Regions from separate parts of the Homo sapiens genome. Here region 2 is linked to region 1. Evidence: promoter capture Hi-C in 16 types of primary human blood cells and fetal thymus (Javierre and others, 2016). All regions are on one chromosome and are shown on one strand. Each heading gives the region's core, a stretch centred on a gene start or on the middle of the fragment in contact. The rest is flanking DNA. Distances are from core to core; before and after follow the strand shown.

What was found. Contacts are between HindIII fragments. The CHiCAGO score rates a contact against its expected background, and 5 or more counts as called.
Region 2: a contact is called between a fragment that was not itself captured here and the fragment with the promoter of PTTG1IP in region 1, in 1 of 17 cell types (naive CD4 T cells). The highest score is 5.0, in naive CD4 T cells.

What each region holds. Positions count from the first base shown.
Region 1 is chr21:44,871,581-44,877,049 of GRCh38, forward strand. PTTG1IP (PTTG1 interacting protein) reads right to left here and starts at 2,110. Exons shown (of 6, transcript NM_004339.4): 1 at 1,922-2,110. The coding sequence starts at 2,036. RefSeq lists enhancers at 1,231-1,731, 1,732-2,232, 2,390-3,067 and a silencer at 1,824-2,473. The HindIII fragment of the contact is 6,566 bases long and covers 1-4,895 here.
Region 2 is chr21:44,803,925-44,809,012 of GRCh38, forward strand. It overlaps SUMO3 (small ubiquitin like modifier 3), which reads right to left. Exons shown (of 4, transcript NM_006936.3): 4 at 1,693-3,116. The coding sequence ends at 3,027. It overlaps LINC01424 (long intergenic non-protein coding RNA 1424), which reads left to right. Exons shown (of 2, transcript NR_109928.1): 2 at 1-793. Among named protein-coding and RNA genes, the nearest start is that of LINC01424, 4.2 kb to the left of the region's middle. RefSeq lists a silencer at 3,244-3,397. The HindIII fragment of the contact is 2,494 bases long and covers 11-2,504 here.

The sequences.
Region 1 (5,469 bases), core at 860-3,359:
CTAAATTCACACAGTGTCCTTGTAAAGGAGACAAAACGTTTTAAACATCAGTACTGCGGTCACATTCCTGTAACCATGACAAGCAGTAAAAATCTCACACCAAGCAAGTACTCTGTGGGAAGAGGGGAGTTCTCCAGGCTATAAATAGCCCCTCTCTCCAAGGACAAGGGGCACGCAGACACCAAAGGCGCCTGGGCAGTGAATGCCAACATGACACGGCACCATTCTTCCTATTCCAAGGGGTCCCCAGTGAGAGAAACAACAGTCCACCCACCAGGACTTGGTGATTACCATAAGTGGAAGCAAGCAAGTGCAGCCTCCAAGTGCAGACACACCGAATGGCTTTTCAGCTGACACACCGAATGGCAGTTCCGGATTAATTCCCACACTGTCCACTCCACTCGTCCACACCCATCTCTGCACCCTTCAGCAGTGCAGAGCAGGAGGAATCACAGTCAAACAAAACCTCATGGTTGTTTTCCTGACACTCCCGCTTTCACAATGCAAGCAAACACACCCCCGAGCCACTGATACAGTTGCCAGTGAATCACACACTCTGCCTGCAGACGCCCATTCTGTTTGTGGAAACGTATTCACTGCACATTTGCGCTTAGAACTCAATCTGGGCCAAAAGTTCCCAGTACAGTCCCACTGGCCTCCTTGACTAACAAACTTCAAGGCAGCTGCATTGCTAACGTCACAAACCCTAAGCACACTTGGAGGCAGGTAAGAAGAAACACAAATAATCCTGCATCGGAATAAACATTCCATAAGGTCACAAAAAGAAAAGGTGCTCTACTATGCTAAACAGACACTGACAGAGCCTGGGCTAACAAGAGCTGAGAAAAGTATTAGCCCCTCAAGCTGGGCCCAGGTCAACCCTAATTGTAAGGGTCAGGAAACTGAAGTTAAGGTGGCACTATTCCCCACCACTAGTGGTCACCTGGAAACTCCACACACGGAAGCCAGCATGACATTGTGAAACAGGTCCAACCATGACACTCTCCAGCTTAGAACCTGCTGGATTTTCCCGCAGCCCACCAGGCCCTGGAGGCCCAGCCCCACAGGAAGCCACCCTCTATAAACACTGCCGGTTTCTGGAACTCTGAGTCTCCTGTCATGCACTTTCCTCCCCCAGCCCCCGCGCCCTCACTGCTTCTTTCTTGGTCAGCCTCCCGGGGACTCAGCTCCTCTTGGATAGGAGCTCTGGCTGTCGGTCACCACTGTGGCCGCAGGGCCTGGTGCAGACGGGATAAACGATGAAGAATGCCACCTGCGCGTCTGGACAGCGTAGAACCGCAATCAGCTTGCTTCAAAATCAGATGCTACAGCCTGGCTTTGGGGACGCCTTCCTTTCTAAGGCATAAGTGCGAGCGTTCGCTGCTGTGCGTGGAACTGCGGCCGGGAGGGAGTGGCGGCGTGAACGCCGGCGGCTGTAGAGACACACCGGCCGCGGCCCCATCACCCTGCAGGGGCCTGCGGCCGCCATCCCGGCCTGCCCCCGACCAGCTGTGCGACCTCGAACACGTCGTGAGCCGGCTTCCCGGCTCGGGATCGAACCCGAGGAGTGCTGTTTGGGGTCGCAGTGAGGCTAAGGGAGGCCGCAGGTGCCAAGCGTCCCGCCTGCCGGGCGAGGGCCAACCCGAGGCCACGCGCGAGGAGCGGCCGCAGCGACTGGACAAAACAAAGACAAAGACAAAGACGGCTCTTCCCCTGCCCGCGCCCCAGCCGCGACGGCAGCTCCCGCGGCCGCCAAACGGGCGTGACCCTCGAGGAGCCTCCGTCGGGGCGCTGCCTGCGACCGTGGGCCCAGGCCGCCCGCCGAGCCCAGCGCCCTGGCCGAAACCCCGACCCCGACCCCGACCTGGACCCACCAGCCGCCCCGCCCCCTTCGCGGCCCCGCCCGCCCCGGCGCCCTCACCAGCTCCGGGAGGCTCCTGCGCGGCGGCCACCGGGATGAGCAGCAGGAGCAGCGCGGCGCCACCGAGGCGCAACCTCCAGTACGGCGTCGGCCCGCGGGCCACTCCGGGCGCCATGGTCGGCCGGTCGCTCTATCAGTCAGTGGAGCGTTACAACTCCGACTCCAGCACAAGCGGTCTCCGCCCGGAACAGCCGCGGCGCCGGAAGTGGACCTGCGAGGTGGGGCCATGCGAGTGCGCAGCCTCAAAAAGCAGCTCGCCCCGCTCCCTCGCCATCTGCCCCGCCCCTCGCCAACGGGCTCGCCTCCCGGCGCGGCTGAGGTTCAGTGCGCCTGCGCGATAGAGGAAAGGAGCCTGGTAGCGAGGAGAGCGGCTGAGGCTCAGTGCGCCTGCGCGGCGCGGATGGGCGAGGCGTGACCGAGGGGCGAGGCGTGACCGAGGGGCGAGGCGTGACCGAGGGGCGAGGCGTGACCGAGGGGCGAGGCGTGACCGAGGGGCGAGGCGTGACCGAGGGGCTCGCCGCGGCTCCTGCGCCTGCGCGGCGGGGAACGGCGACCGGCTGAGGGGACTAGGGGAGCGCGGTGCTTCGGTGGCGGAGGTCACGGTGGCCTCCATCCTAAAGGGCTGCGGGCGTCCCGGACGGCGGTCCCAAGCGCTGCTCACGCTGCTCTTAAGTGAGCCCTGGACGAGGCGCGGTGGGCCCTCATAGTCCGCGCCGGCGCCCTCGCTCCACACCGCGGCGTCCGGCCCTGGGCTCCCGCCGATGTCCGCGTGGGACTTTTAGGGGATTTGTTTATTTTTGTACGTTAACCACACTAGAAACGGCCCCAGAATGGGCTGAAACGTGTGCTGCTGAAGCTGCCACCTAAACTCCCGAGAGAAGCGCCGTTTCTCCTCCATGGCTTCTCGCCGACGCCCTCGCTGCGGCCTTCCGGGCCCCTCGGTTGATAAAAGGACTAAATAGTGACGGACATTTTTAAGGCTACTTAAGAAATGGCAAAAATACATTTAGAGGTGTGAACCCGAACACACTGCGCGCTTTAAGCCCCGCGAGAGCCGGGGCCGCCCGCTTCTGTGCGCCCGTAGCTCCTTTCTCGGGTCCGGGATTCGCCGGTGCCGGGGACAGAAACCTCCTGCCTTCTTAGTTCATGACCCTTGTAGATGAACTTCCCTGTTTTCTGCACTGCTTAGACCAGAAGACGGGAAACCGTGACTGCCGCACCCTTCCCTGAAGCAGGCACTGCCCGTCGTCCATCAAACGCGAGGACTGCGCCCACCTCGTAGGAAGGACGCCGCGGTCCTGCTAAAAGCCTCCGCCTCTGCCTGCCCGAGGGCACCCTTCCCCTCCCCGCTTCCGAGGGCGGACTCCATTCCTCTGGAGCCGGTGTTTCCGGGTGGGCCAGCCTCCAACTGCCTTTGAATAACCCCCCCTTACATTAGATTCTGACCCTGTGGTGATTTTAGGTTGGGATTTGGGCGCCTGCAGATGGCTCCGAAGCCAGCCTCTTGTGATCCGAGCCACTTCTCTGGCACTCGGAGCGCTGGCACCCGCGGAGCGGCCTTGGTTCACCGGACCGCCTGGGAACCTGGCCGGGGTCTCTGGCAGCCTCCCAGGGCTGAGGTTCAGACTCTGTTCCGCCTACCCAGGTCCACACCTGATAGGGCTGGAGTTGAGGCTTGGTTTTAAGGCAAGAGTTTCGTTTGTTATTTCTCCAAAGAGTCAGCTGTTTGCAGGTGTGTGGTTAACACTATCCTTCGAGGTTAAGGTTTTGTTCGTCTTGCTAAAGTTTGCAACCTTTTTTGTCCTTCAGATTTGGAGAAGGGGAAAGCAGTTTCTCTTTGAAAAGAAGCAGCGAATCGTGGCTTAAGCAAAATTTGTAATCCTTAAAACTGGCCAGGCTCTGGAGCTGAGTTCAATTTGACATGTCTAAACTTTCTTCTTGAGTAACCAGATTTTCCCTTACAGTCTTTTGTCACTTAAGAGAACTCATAGGCAATCGTCCATCCAAAACAAGTCTTTCTCCTTCAGGGAGGACCCATCTTTGGAAACTCCAGCTGGTTTCCTGTGCAGTGCTTATGGTGCCACCTCTCGTTATATTTAGAAAAATGGTCTCACGTAACTTGAGAAAAAACATTTCAGTGACCAAAGCCGGGTACCATTGGAACACCAAGGTAATTTACTTGTTTGCTCAATTGGAAAACGCTGGCTCTAGGATAAAACGGAATCTTTGGGAGAGTTATTTTTTATGGTAGTTGGAAGCATCCAAAAGAAGTTCTAATAAAGGTATTTATGAGAGAAAAACAAAAATTATCTAAAATAATTTCTGAATTTAAAAAAGACTACTGAAATTTCTCCCCCTCCTCCCTCAGCTCCTTCTCTTTATCCTTTGTTGTCTGAATTACCTCGCCCAGACCCACCTTTCTTCCTCCTCCTCCTCCTGTTTTGGGGCCATTGCTCAAACAGCCAGTGTCTCTCATAGGGGACAACTATGTGCCCTAGTTCATGAGTTATGGTCAAAGGTAGAACTTAAAAGTATAATCAAGGAATTTCCTGATGCTCACCAGGACCCCACTGGTTTTCCCAGAGAATTTAAATACCCGAGTGTGTGACCCTGCCTCTACTTTGGGAAAAATAATTTTTTTTTTTTTGAGACGGAGTCTCGCTCTGTTGCGCAGGCTGGAGTGCAATGGCTCAATCTTGGCTCACTGCAACCTCCGCCTCCCAGGTTCAAGCGACTCCTCTGCCTCAGCCTCCCGAGCAGCTGAGACCACAGGCACGCACCACCACGCCCGGCTAATTTTTGTATTTTTAGTAGAAATGGGGTTTCACCATATTGGCCAGGTTGGTCTTGAACTCCTGACCTTGTGATCCACCTGCCTCAGCCTCCCAAAGTGCTGGGATTACAGGCGTGAGCCACCACGCCTGGCCATAAAAATTATTTAAAATAGTTAACACGAGTTCCCATTGCTGACATAAGCTTTTGCTGATAGAGCAGCCGTGTTTTCTGTAATAAATCCCATCTTGTTACAAGGTTCCATTCCTTGGAGTCAAAAAAAAGTTCAAAGGGTAGGTGTCACTAATACGCCTGTAACGGCACGTAAATCTCAGCCTATAGCTTTTCAACTAGGTCCTTTACAAGGGACTCACATTTTCCTTCTGGTTCTATCAGCTGCCAGCCATCTTATAAAAGGAGACTTCTTAGAATTACAATATCCACGTTTCTTTCTCCCAAAGGGGGAAGACGTATTTAGAATTAGATGAGAAAGCTGAGTTACTAGACATAAAAAAAGTTTCAAAATCTAACCCAATTGCGATCCCTAATTGCCCTAGAAGACACTGAATTATTGAATAATGAAGAATTACAAAACCTACTAAAGGCAGTACTTGATCAAATATGGTCAGAGTCTTCCACTGATACTGGAAGAATCCTCTTGGCTACCCCGATCAAAGTCCTTTAGTGTAGTGGACTTATTAGCACATCCTTCAGTAGTTCTGTGTGTGAAAGTGTTGATTTCTCTTTACCTTTACTTGGGAAGGCAGACAATACAC
Region 2 (5,088 bases), core at 8-2,507, 69 kb before region 1:
GTGGAATTCAAGCTTAGCTGGGCATCCTATGTTTTAACTGGCTAACTCGTGGAACTCTCAACTTGGATCAAGTGGTAGTGGAGTCCCAGGGACTCTGAGCAGCCAGTGTGTGATACTGCAGGGCAGCACACCCTGGGGAGGCCAACTGTACAGAATAAAATTAATGCTTTCTATCTTTAGCAACTAAAGTTCTGAAATATAAAAAGGACCTCACAGCTTAACCCATGTTATACGGTGGGGTTTTCCCATGAACATCACGCGTTTCCAGCTGGGCACTCCTGCAGCATGGCTAAGATGACAACTCAAGTTCCCTGGGAGTGGGGGTTCCTGGGATGTGAACCTTTCGGTGCAAAAACTGGAGAAGTTCCAGTTGGGACCCCAGGCATAGATACTAGGATAAATAGGGCCTCTCTCCTCCAGGAGCATCAATTTAACCCAAAGATTCTTGGAGTCAGTTTCACATAAGTAATCTTGTTGAAAATAGTAATCCCAACAGATCTATTTTTCCAAATGCACCATTTGCATAAATCTCAGAAAAAAGACAACTTCAAGAACATACCTTTGCTGGGCACCATGGCTCATGCCTGTAATCCCAACTACTTGGCAGGCTGAGGCACGAGGATCACTTGAGGCCAGGAGTCTGAGATCAGCTTGGGCAACTGATTTATGGTTTGGATTTGTGTCCATGCCCTTCCTCTTCTGCCATGATTATAAGTTTCCTGAGGCCTCCCTAGCCATGCTTCCTGTACAGCCTACAGAACTATGAGTCAATTAAACCTCTTTTCTTTATAAATTACCCAGTCTCAGGTAGTTCTTTATAGTAATGTGAGGATGCACTAATACAGCAATATAGTGAGAGCTCCATCTCTACAAATCTTTTTTAGAAAGACAGGACATCCTGCTGGTTCTGCTGTGAGGTGTTGTGGGTGGAAGTTCAAGCAGCGCTGCCCTAATACATCCACATATGCTCCTGGCCATTATTCTTATCTAACCTACGGTGCCTGGGACACATCCCTTTCCTCATTGATTTTGGCAGCCGCTTCGCCCCAGGCTGCCTAGGGAATCTGGCAGATGTCCCCATCCTGTATTGTGCCTTAATCCGTGCACTCTTCCTGGTGCAAGTGAATCACGTGTTCCATCTCCACAGCTGCCCATCTTTCTTCACCTTGGGTTCATTCAACTGATGGGCTAAAACAGCTCATTTTCAACCTGGGTTTTGTTACACCACTGCACACTGGGAAATTCTTAAAGCCAAATCAATGTCAGTTCAGTTTCAAAGCAGATAGGTAAGTTGTCCATGGCAGAAGGAAAGCTGACTTACATTCAAACACCAGAAAACGAGAGATGTCCTAGACTAACACCCAAGCTCACCTGCCTCTAAAATCCACCCTTTCTTTACATACGAAACCCAGGAGAGGGAGGGTAACATGTCACAGTGATGCCAGCTCAGACAGCTGTCAGCCAGGAGGTCTCTGAGGAGAGGATGCATCCCTCAGCAGGAAGAAGGCTGGACTAGCATTGGTGATGTGCCAGGGGAGGGGAAATGAGCTGCCAGGCGAATACTAACCTTCCAGCGGCTAGCTTTTCAATCAAAGTTTCTCAGTGCAGTGGCTGCCTGGAATGGTCAATTCAAACACTGAATTGTACCAGTATGCCCCAACCTTCAAATGCAGTGTTTAGTAGAAGCCAAGAGACAGAATACCAAACTATATTTACTGTTTACAGTAGTAAAGGACAACAAATAATGTACAAATTGGTGAATAAACACAACAGAGCCAACAAACATCCCACCCGAGCCCATACAGCAAACAGGAAATGAGAACATTTCAGCAAGATTTCAAGCAAGCAAGAGATGATGGGTCATTGTTCAGGTGACTGTAAAAAGGCAGAGAATGGCCACCAAGCAGCAATGGAGCCTCAGGGAAGGACAATAGGCAGAACTATGAAAATGTTTAATTGGTATAGATCCCAAAATATTTCACAGAACTGAAATCACCAGACTAATGCATAAATTCAATACCTATTTGGAAAGCAGCACGGCACAAACCCACGAGAAGAACATGAAGTCATCATTCCATGGGTTCATTTGTAACCACACTTGGAAGTAGCTCTTATACACGACAACATAACTGCAAATTCAGCAATACTTAGTCTTACTTTTTTATGTATAGACCATAATCATTCATCAGAAGCAAATACTAGAAGAAATCTGAGGCCACAACACCATTACCAAATGAGAAATGTGGGAATTTCTTCAATATTAAGAGGGAGAAAAAGGCCAATTTTGGTTGTGCCAATCCTTGCCTGTGTACCAACGCCAGGTACTGAGCAGGGAGTGGGGTGGGAGGGGTGGCAGGGGGGTGGGTCCTGGGCCTCAGACCCCGAGGTTACATGCTTGAGGGCCAGAGAGCACGTGGGGTCAAATTACCAAAAGACTCGGTTATTTTTTAACCTTTGAAGAAGCATTCCAGTATTTTCCCTTCAACTTTTCCATATACTGACAAAGCTTAAATTTGCAATATTTAGCATTTTAATCACCTGTGCCTGTAACAGCAAGTGACAGTCTGTCCTCCCTACCAACCTTGCCCCCAATACCTGTCCAACAGCTGCATCCCCACTGCGGGAAACACCAATTCTCTATGTGACTGGAGTGAGCAGGGGAGAGGCAACCAACTCAGGAGTCAGATCCCTGGCCAGACTAAAAGCGAACATTCAGGCTATAATTTTGGGGTTAAAAAAATGTTGTAGGAGGGGGGGAAAACACAAATGAGCACACAAAAGTACCCACAATATCTTGCAACTCATTTTACCTGAACAAAGATAACAATTCTGATTGGCCCAATTTAAGTTACAGATTCATCCCTGCAGATATAGTTTTGAGTTGCACTTGAAGTACATCAAAGAGAGGAAAATCATCGTGGTGAATGTCCTCGAGTTTCCGCAGACACCTTTGTGGTCGGCATGGTCACGTGCTCACCATTCAACAGCAATGCGAGGATGGACGGCCCGGGCTGGGGACGGGCCCTCTAGAAACTGTGCCCTGCCAGGCTGCTCTCCGGCACACCTCCCGTCTGCTGCTGGAACACGTCGATGGTGTCCTCGTCCTCCATCTCCAGCTGTCATGGTTGTCACAACAGGCACAGCGAGAGAGAGGGGAGCCTGTTAGTTTTCATCAGAGAGTGGGAAGATCCTCACTGGCATGAGTGTTCCCTGACACTAGCGACATCACCTGGTCACACCTTGGCTCTTGTCCGTCCCCTCACTGCAGCTCAGCACGCATGGAAGAGGCATTGCTGTATGCTCACTACAGCCCTTACGGTTCAACAAGCTTCCCCTAACAAAACTCACAAAAGCAGATTCAAAGCTAAAATGTTAACTGAGAGAAAAACTGAGTCTAGAAGATAAACTGAAATGTCTAAAATTCTTACTGAAAATTACACAAAATCAGATTCTAATTAAGAACATCTGATTAGCAGCACTGAGTCCTAGGACCCACAGGAGCCTTGCGCTTTATACCAAGTGCGGGGGACCATGCCATGAAAGCCAAAGCCCCCAGCTCACAGAAGGGCCCGTCAAGTGAGGGTCCATTGCCAGCTTCTCCCCGCCCCTCCCCATTTAAAGCCCAGGCAAGGTAGTGAAACACCCCCGCTCACTTCTCTCCTCCTGACACAGTGGGCGCAAAACACCCACCCTGATCTTCTTCCATCCTCTAAGCAAGAGGAAGCTTCTGCCAGTTCCTACACAGACTCAGCAAGGCTGGAAGTAGTCATGCTCCCAGATGGAAAGGAGTCCCATCAGGGCTGTCGGCCACCCTCACCCTGCCACCGACACTATGGGCTGGAGGGAGAGCCCCCAGGCAGGGCTCCCTCTGCCTCTCGGTCCACCTGTCCACAGCCAGCCCCCTGACCCCCAGTCAAGCCCCAGAGACTCCACGAGGCCCTCCCTGCTCAGCTGCTCTCAGCAGCTTCTCCCTGGTGAACACTCCCAGAGCTGCCACTGCCTCAGCGGTGTGTAGGTTTCCTCAAGTAGGTACAAATGGATACTTGTTGCAAAGATGTTTTCAATATTTATTAAATACTGAATAGTAAATATTTAAAATCTTAAATGTTTTGCAAAAATATTTCCACATAAAACATTCCAGTGGATTCTCACAACATTGAAAGGGAGAAAAAGCAGGTATTGGTTCCATTTATGGACAGACAAAACTGAGACTCCACAAGATGAAGTGATGCTTGGTCACGGGGCCATCAGCTGACAAATGACAAGAGCTGCAACTTGAACCAAGTTTAAAAAAAAACTCTGTTTCGGCCGGGCGCGTTGGCTCATGCCTTTAATCCCAGCACTTTGGGGGGCTGAGGTGGGCAGATCACAAGGTCAGGAGATCGAGACCATCCTGGCTAACATGGTGAAACCCCGTCTCTACTAAAAATACAAAAAAATTAGCCGGGAGTGGTGGTGGGCACCTATAGTCCCAGCTACTTGGGAGGCTGAGGCAGGAGAATGGCGTGAACTCAGGAGGCAGAGCTTGCACAGTGAGCTGAGACTGCGCCACTGCATTCTAGCCTGGGCAACAAAGCGAGACTCCGTCTCAAAAAAAAAAGTCTGTTTCCAGGTCCAAAGCTCTTTCCATGACAGTATGATGCCCTGCAACGTGATAGATGAAATCTCATTCATGTCTGCATGTGCCTGAGAGAAACGAGCTGTGCAGACTGATAATCAGGGGTTATGGCACATTCTGCCCACCCACGTCACTTGTGCAAGATGCTTAAAGGGCACAAGAATCCAGCTGGCCCCTAAGCTGCACACGGGCTACAACAGCAAGCGTCCAGACAATGAGTGGGAAGGGGCCGCTGAGTGGTCCTTGCACCCCCGCTTCCCTTACAGTGAGGACGGGCCCAGCACTTGGCTCCATCTCCAAACAGCAAGAATGATGTCTGCAAAGCAGTTTTCTCATTTGAAAATTTAAATTTAAAATGTGAAAAATAAATAATCTAATAATCAATATCATTAAGGCATTCTGTATGAGCTCCCACCTACAATTCTCAAATAAGCGTATCCCAAATGGCAGTTACCCCGCACAAATCGGAA